Linked DNA regions of Homo sapiens: region 1 is linked to region 2. Evidence: promoter capture Hi-C in human tissues and cell types (Jung and others, 2019). All regions are on one chromosome and are shown on one strand. The core of a region is centred on a gene start or on the middle of the fragment in contact, and the rest is flanking DNA. Distances in the headings are between cores, read along the strand shown.

Evidence for each region. The method cuts DNA at HindIII sites, captures the fragments that hold promoters and counts their contacts. A contact is called where the count stands out against the background at its distance.
Region 1: a fragment that was not itself captured here is called in contact with the fragment with the promoter of ITPRIPL2 in region 2 in 2 of the 25 tissues and cell types used here (aorta and spleen).

What each region holds. Positions count from the first base shown.
Region 1 is chr16:19,255,424-19,259,621 of GRCh38, reverse strand. All of the region lies in intron 7 of SYT17 (synaptotagmin 17), which reads right to left. Among named protein-coding and RNA genes, the nearest start is that of CLEC19A, 28 kb to the left of the region's middle. The HindIII fragment of the contact is 5,357 bases long and covers 1-4,198 here.
Region 2 is chr16:19,111,489-19,115,367 of GRCh38, reverse strand. ITPRIPL2 (ITPRIP like 2) reads right to left here and starts at 1,404. Exons shown (of 1, transcript NM_001034841.4): 1 at 1-1,404. The coding sequence starts at 906. RefSeq lists silencers at 843-1,212, 1,303-1,402. The HindIII fragment of the contact is 3,376 bases long and covers 1-2,281 here.

The DNA.
Region 1 (4,198 bases), core at 1,353-3,852, 140 kb before region 2:
TAAGAACCTATTTAATGCTCATGGATTTAGACATAATTCAAATAAACTCAGTCATCTGGTTTTCCCATCTGGAGTAACTTAATATAGTGGATTGTGAGTACCAGACAGATACAAGAACTCAAAAAACTACAATAGAATGGAACCATTTGGTGAAGAGGCAAATAACATTTTCCTCCTTCACAGGGCTGGCGGCTATTTGCAGTGTGATCATTTATTTTTATAATTATGATCATGAATCCATTAGGATGCCTGCTGAATGGATCAAAGGAAGTATGGGAATTTTGGTAGCAAACACAGTTAAAAAATGTTAAGCCTTGTTTAAAACTTATGGGGAAAGGGATCAGTAAGTGGAAACTTTACTCTCACAAAATGCTTTTAGTTCTCCTCCTCCAATGACTATAGAGTAACACCTTGCACGGTACCTTGCTCTAATGTTTTCTCTTCTGATTTCGCTTAATCTCCAGCACCCTAAGGCTACCCTCTGGGGACAGGCAAGTACCCAGAAGTCCAGTTCCCTTCTTCAGACAATGCATGGACACACCCTGCCTATTCCACTTTTAGGAATTTGAGACCCAACTTACCTGTAGAGTTATCAACATATCTATTTCCACCGTATCATAGCAATTCAAGTTGGGGAAACACAACCAGGAAACAAAAGTGTGGTAGGAGGCATCCACCAGGGCTCAAAGATCAGGCTTTGAAGGAGCCTGGGATAAAGATCAGTTTATTAAGCACCTACTGTGTATTAGGGCCAGGGCTAAGGACGTCAGTGGATTGACTCATTTAATCATCACATCAAGCCTCCAGAGCAGGGTTTCTCACCCTTGATACTGCTGACATTATGGGCCAGATCATTCTGTGTTTTGCGGTGCTGTCCTAGGCACTCTAAAATGCTTGGTAGCTCCTATCATCTCACACTAAATATCAGTAGCAATTCCTCCATCTCCCCTGTTTCTGTTATTTTATTTTATTTTATTTTTGAGATGGAGTCTTGCTCTGTCGCCCAGGCTGGAGTGCAGTGGTATGATCTCAGCTCACTGCAACCTCCGCCTCCCGGGTTGAAGTGATTCTCCTGCCTCAGCCTCCTGAGTAGCTGGGACTACAGGTATGCACCACCATGCCTGGCTAATTTTTGTGTTTTTTAGTAGAGACGGGGTTTCACCATGTTGGCCAGGCTGGTCTCGAACACCTGACCTCAGGTGATTCGCCTGCCTCAGCCTCCTGATGTGCTGGGGTTACAGACGTGAGCCACCGTGCCTGGCCTCCTCTATCTCCCTTGTGACTGCCAAAAGTATCTCTAGACATTGCCAGATGTACCCTGGGGACACAATTGCCACCCTTCCCGCCCCCCACCTCCCACATTTGAGAAGTGCTTTAAGGCAGTTGCTTTCACTGGCTCATTTTACAGCTGAGAAGAGTGAGTTCTAGAGGGTGAAGGGAGATCACTCACTGCTCCAGTCAAAACCTAAGTACCCTGAAGGAGTCAGGGACAAACTGAGGCTTTCACCTGTTGATATTTGCTGTAAAAACGAATTTGTTCCTCACCATAGGAGCTAAATTATTTGGTCGCTAATTTAGTTTGCCAAGGCAGACGGTTCTGGAAGGGAAGCTGGATGACTTAGAATGTGGGTGTAATAAACACTGCAAATTAAAAGGAAAAAAAAAAAACATCTTTACCAATGGGAGCAGACTCAACAGCTTCTCATTTTGCATATTTGGTTCACAAGGTAATGAAGGACTCTCATTTGTGCCCTAGGCTCTCACTGCTCCCATATGCAACTCTGAGTCTGACAGCACAGTGCAGGGACACCCCCAGATTATGGCTGGCACCCCGAAACCTCATCACTGTACCCGGCGATCTACCTCTTTGATGCTGGGTTAAGATGTTCCCCTGTTCCTGAAAAGAAAAAATGCACAAAGCCAGCAAGACCACCCTGGGCTGTTTCATAGTCCTGCCTACTTCCTCATGGCCGAGAGGTCCCCACAGCCCATCATCAGGGTGTTCATGAGTTAGCTTAACTGTTGGAGGAGACATAACGCAGTCTACACAGGCCTGCTTCTTCCCCTTTTCTTTCTTCCTACAGGGCAGCTCTGACACACTGCAACGCAGGTGGTCCTCATTGTCTTTCCAACTTTTGCAAAACCTCTTCTCACTGGAGCACTCTCTTTTTTTTCTTCTTTCAGAAACCTAGAAGCTTTTTCAGGTTTTTCTTTTTTTTTTTTTTGCAAAACAAGGTACATCATATCCCTTCCCTGGGCCTCAGTTTCCCCCTTTATACAATGAGCGGGTATATGTAGATTTTGAGTTCTTTTTTAGCTATGACATTTCTTTGGTTCTAAGAAGTTTCATCCATGACTTAAGGGTGATGTTTTTCAAGCTTTTCTGGCTCACTTCGTGATTCACAGCAGCTGCTGGGACAGAACTTTTTTTTCATGTTTTTCCTTCCAACAGTCATAATGACGATTCAGTTAACTTTATTATAATAATTAAAAATCAGTAACAGCAAATCTTGAGGTCTGTGTACTACGAACTGAGAAAAGCACTTTATATATGTTGTTGTTTTTCTTTTTTAAACTTAAATCCATATCACAGCCCTATTTTTATTGCCATTTTGCAGATGGGGAATTTGAGGCTCGGAGAAGTTAAGAGGTTGAGTGCTCAAAGCCACCCAGCCAGCACGAGGCATAGTAGAAATTGAAACTCAAAGTCCAGCCTAATTTCTTCCTTTATCTCAAAAAGAAGAGGCCAAGCACAGTGGCTTATGCCTGTAATCCCAGCACTTCGAGAGGCCAAGGTGGGAGGATCGCTTGAGCCCAGGAATTCAAGACCAGCCTGGGTTACATAATGAGACTGTCTCTATAAAAAAATTTAAAAAGTAGCTGGGCATGTTGGTGCACGCCTGTGGTCCCAGCTACTTGGGAGGCTGAGGCGGGAGGACTGCTTGAGCCCCGGAGGTTGAGATTGCAGTGAGGCATGATCATACCACTGCACTCCAGCCTGGTCGAAAGAGTAAGACCCTGCCTCAATAATAATAATAATAATAATAATAATAATAATAATAATAGACTCACCCATTTCCTACTTCCCTTGACCCTCTCCTGTGATAAGGGCCAGATTGGGTAATAGAGATGTATGGTACGTGTGTGTGTGTGTGTGTGTGTGTGTGTGTGTGTGTGTGTGTGTTTGAAGAGGGGTTAAAACCTCAACCAGCATATAAGGGAAAAGGCCAACAGTCAGAATGGCCCTGGAAAGTCCCGTGAAAATCCTCATAAAGGCGCCATGTTGAGGCCCTTCTCGCCATCTCTCTAGGGTCCAGCATGGTCAGGATTGGCTCTGACTTTTGAATGAGTGGCTCCCTGTTCAGTCAAGCAGCAGATAAGGAGGGAAGATGTCCTATATTAAAGACTGTTGCTATGAAAAATACAATGATAGCACCCAACAGTTCTATAGTGCTTATCACATACCAGCCCTGTCCTGTGGATTTCAGTACACAAATTTAATCCGCACAACAAATCTATGAGGTTTGTACTATGATTACCTCTATTTTATTATTTCCTTGAGCCTAGAGGGCACACACTGATAGCATGATGCATCGTCCTGGGGACTGACCTAGACCAGCCTTGAGCAGATCCTGGAAATAGGCTTGGGCTGTTTGGGTGGGAAATTCTGGGATCCCAGTATGTGGAGATGATCTAGCAAGGAAGATGTGGGCTCCTTGATGCCTGGACTCCTCACTCCATGAATTTCTTGCCTCCTCCCATTTACAGCATGAGGCCCAAGGTAGAAGCCCTCTTTGTCGTGGTCTGCAGGCAATATTGGCTTAGAACGAATTATTTAATTTTTATTTTAAGAGAGTACAGTGGAGTGCAGTGGCGTGGCATGATTATAGCTCACTGCAGCCTCAACCTCCTGGGCTCAAGTGATCCTCCTGGCTCAGGTTCCTGAGTAGCTGGGACTACAGGGGCACCTCACCACGCCCAGCTAATTAATTTTTTTTTTAGACATGGGGTCTTGCTATGTTGTCCAGGCTGATCTTGGACTCCTGGCTTCAAGCAATCTTACTCTCCTCAGCCTCCCAAAGTGTTGGATTACAGGTGTGAGCCACCGTGCCTGGCCTGAATTTTTTAATGCATTTGTTTTCAACAGGGGCCAATTTTACCCCACAATCTGGAGGCATTTTTGATTGTCATGTCTTGG
Region 2 (3,879 bases), core at 155-2,654:
GCGGCAGCAGCCGTAGTCAGTGCGGCAGGGCAAGATGTGTAAGGTGGGGGGCTGTTCCAGGCCACCTGGGGTCAAGGTGACCCGACAGCGCCCCTCCAGGCTGTAACGCACAGTGGCCAAGGAGCGCTGCAGATGCGACTGGAACCAGCGCAGCACCAGAGTAGCAGAGAGGTGACGCCGCCCGCGCACATCCACGCAGAAGGCATCAGCAAAGGGTTTGCAGTCCCGAAGCCAGTGGCCCCCCGAGGCCCCCGATGGTGAGGGTGGTGCCTTGAGGGCGCACAAGAAGCAGCCGCGGAAGGCCGGGGCCAGCGCTGGCTCCTCGCCCAGGCTCCGTGGCTCCAGCGCCACAAGCGGCGGGAGGCGCAGTGGCACCAGCACGTCGAAGCTGTCGGGCCGGCGGATTTTATGTTGCTCGTAGGCGCTGCCCACCTGGATGAAGTCTCCGCGGAAGGCCAAGGCCAGCGCTCCCCCAGGAATGAGACCGGGGGACCCCCGGGCGCGGCCAGCCCGCACCAGCTCGCCCACGATCCGGCTCACGTGCGCCTTGCTGTGGCCCAACACGTGCGGAGACAGGCGCACCTCATGCTCGTAGTAACTCTCCAGCAGGATGCTGAGGCCCGGCTCTCGGAAGTGTCTCGAGGAGAAGGCGGCGTGACCCTCCAGACGGGGAGACCCGGGCAGGAAGCGCTGCCGGACAGCGTGGCGACAGCGCAGGAGGACATAGCTGAGGAGGAGCAGGACGGCCACCTTAAGCAACGGGAAGCCGCCATCCACGCCGTCGGCGGGCTCGGCCCGGGCGCCCCCGCTTCCCCGCAGGACATGGTAGAGGCACACCAGGGCGGTGCACAGGCCGGTCACCAGGGGCCAGAAGACGCGTAGATTGAGGGTGTAGTGCACCGACATGCCGGGCGCCCGGGGCGGCGGTGGCCGAGCAGCCCAGGGGGCAAGCCCCGGCGGCGACCCAAGCCCAGCATGCGCACAGCGCCCGGGCAGCCCCGCTGTCCCCGTCTCCTCCTCCGCGGCGGCTTCCCGAACGCAGGCCCGAGGGAGGCCGCCCTCCAGCTCGGCCTCCTCTCCCAGCTCAAGTGTTCCTTCCAGCTGCGGCCCGCCCTGCGCTCTCGGGCCCCGGGCCGCGCCCTGCCCCGGCTGCGCGCTGAGTCCGGCCCAGCGGCCCTCCCCGCCCGGCGCCCCCGCGCGCCGCCGTCGGCCAGCTTCTGGCCCGGCCTGGCTCGCCTCCTACCCTGGGCGGCCCTCCTGGCTCTCCCGCCGCTCCTCTCCGCGCCTGACCCTGTTACTCGGACCCCGGGAGTTTCCTCTTCCGAGGGGGAGGCGAGGCCGCGCCAGCTAGCGGGGAGGAAATGCCGGAGTCTGGAGCCGAGCGTGGAGCTGGCGAGCCGGGTCGGCCCCCTCCCGGGCCTCCGCCTTAAAGCGACGCGGGGCGGCGGGAGGGACTTCAGGACGCTCTTGGAACTGGCCTCCCGCGGCCCACCCCCATCCTCCCTCCCCGAAGGCAGAATTGGGAAGGCCCTGATTCCGGGGCGGTAGCTTCGTCCAGGGAGCCTCTGGAGTTGCGCTCCCTTGAAGTTATACTGGGACGTTGAAAAGGAGAAAAGGGCGCACAGCCAGACTGTCCAGTCCTCCCCACCCCCACCGCACAAGCTGCGGTGGCGTGGCAGGCCCTGGCACAGGAGTGGCCCTTGCCGTCTGCCGCAGTCGTCTGTTCAAACCAGTATTCACCGAGCACCTACCATGTGCCAGGTCGGAGCCACAGTGCTGGGGAAATCATAGTTGACAAGATGGACAAGGTTTCTGTCCTTCGTGAAGCTTACAGCCTTGTAAAAATGGGAATCAAAAAAGGAAGGGGCTGGGCGCAGTGTCTCACGCCTGTAATCCCAGCACTTTGAGAGGCCGAAGTGGGCGGATCATTTAAGGTCAGTAGTTCGAGACTAGCCTGGCCAACATGGTGAGACCCCCCCCCCCGCCCCCCATCTCTACTAAAAATACAAAAATTAGCCAGGCGTAGTGGCACGCGCCTGTAATCCCAGCTGTTCGGGAGGTTCAGGCAGGAGAATCGCTTGAATCCGGGAGGCGGAGGCTGCCGTGAGCCGAGATCGCGCCACTGTACTCCAGCCTGGGTGACAGAGTGAGACTCCGTCTCAAAAAAAAAAAAAAAAAAAAAAAAAGTGGGGGGAAGGATTCCACAGCAAGAAAACGCTCTAAAATAAACAAAAGTGCCCGAGGGAGTGAGAAGGTGCTGGCTACCCTGTGGAAACCAGAGGATGACAGGGGTGACATTTGGCCTGAGACTTCATCGGAACATGCTGGTTCACCCCTGTAATCCCAGCACTTTGGGAAGCCGAGGCGGCGAGAAGATCGCTTGAGTGAGGCCAGGAATTCGAGGCTGCAGTGAGCTATGATAGCATCATTGCACTCCAGCCTGAGTGACAGAGCAAGACTCTTGTCTCTGAAAAAATAAAATAAATAAAATGAAATGAAATTAAAATAAAATTATTTTCCCAGTGGAGGAAAGGGGCACAAACAGGTTCAGCTCAGGCAGGTTCAGCTGCCCCCCTTCCCCCCTCCCCCACAAGGTTACACAGCCTTTGTAGAGCTGGGCAGAAACCAAGGGGTGGAACTCCCAGGAGGGGGCCCAGGGAAGGTCTCTTCCTCATCTGCTGGGAATTTTGGGGGTCCTTTGTCTGGGTCTACATTGGAACCTCAGTCCTAGGAAGCTTGTTTTGTTTCATAACAGGGAGCACTTCCTGAAATAATCTGATCTATTTAAATAATTGTCTTTCTTTATTCACACTCATTACACCTTCTTTGCTGGCACTGACCTTTAAAGAGAGCAAGGGTGAATATATTAAAACATGTTAGAACCCAGCTGCCACCTGGGAACCAGGACTCAAAAGATGGCTTCTGGGTTGTTCCCAGTAAATCCTAAATTGGGCCCCTGAGAGCTAAGCAGATCTGCCTTCAGATCCCATCTACTAATATTAGCTATGAGATCATCATCTACCAGTCAAGATTCTTAGGTTTGCAAGTGACAGAAACACAGCTCCAACTGGCTTAAGTGCACGCACGCATAGACACACACACACACACACATTATTGTATCATGTTAACTGAGATCCATGAGGGGATTTCAGGTACAGCTGAATCTAGGTGCCTCAATGCTATGCAGACCTGTTCTCCCTTCACTTCTTAGCTCTCTGCTTTTTAAGTGGGCTGTCCTCCCCACAGGTCCTCCATATGCCCTTGGCTGCTGTAGTCTCACATTGTCTTCAGTGCAGAAGAAAAGAGAGCCTTTCCTGTTTTTGTTTGTTTGTTTGTTTGTTGTTTGTTTGTTTTAAAGACAGAGTCTCACTCTGTTGCCCAGGCTGGAGTGCAGTGGCACGATCTCAGCTCACTGCAACCTCCACCTCCTGGGTTCAAGTGATTCTCATGCCTCAGCCTCCTGAGTAGCTGGGATTACAGGCATGCGCCACCACGCCTGGCTAATTTTTGTATTTTTAGTAGAGATGGGGTTTCACCATGTTGTCCAGGCTGGTCTTGAACTCCTGACCTCAGGTGATCTGCCCACCTCAGCCTCCCAAAGTGCTGGGATTACAGGCGTGAGCCACCGCGCCTGGCCAGAGAGGCTTGCTTTTCTCAAAGTTGTGGTAAATGCCATGACTTGGGATAGTTTTGGGTCATATGCTAAAGTCACCAAGCAAGGGAATGCACTGATTAGCATTGCCCAGGTAGTGCCCCCACCAACTCCAATCCAAATCTATGTTGAAACCTTAACGGCCAATGTGACTGTATTTGGAGATAGGGCTTTTCGGCAGTAATTTAGGTTAAATGAGGTCAGAAAGATAGGGTCCTAATCTGATA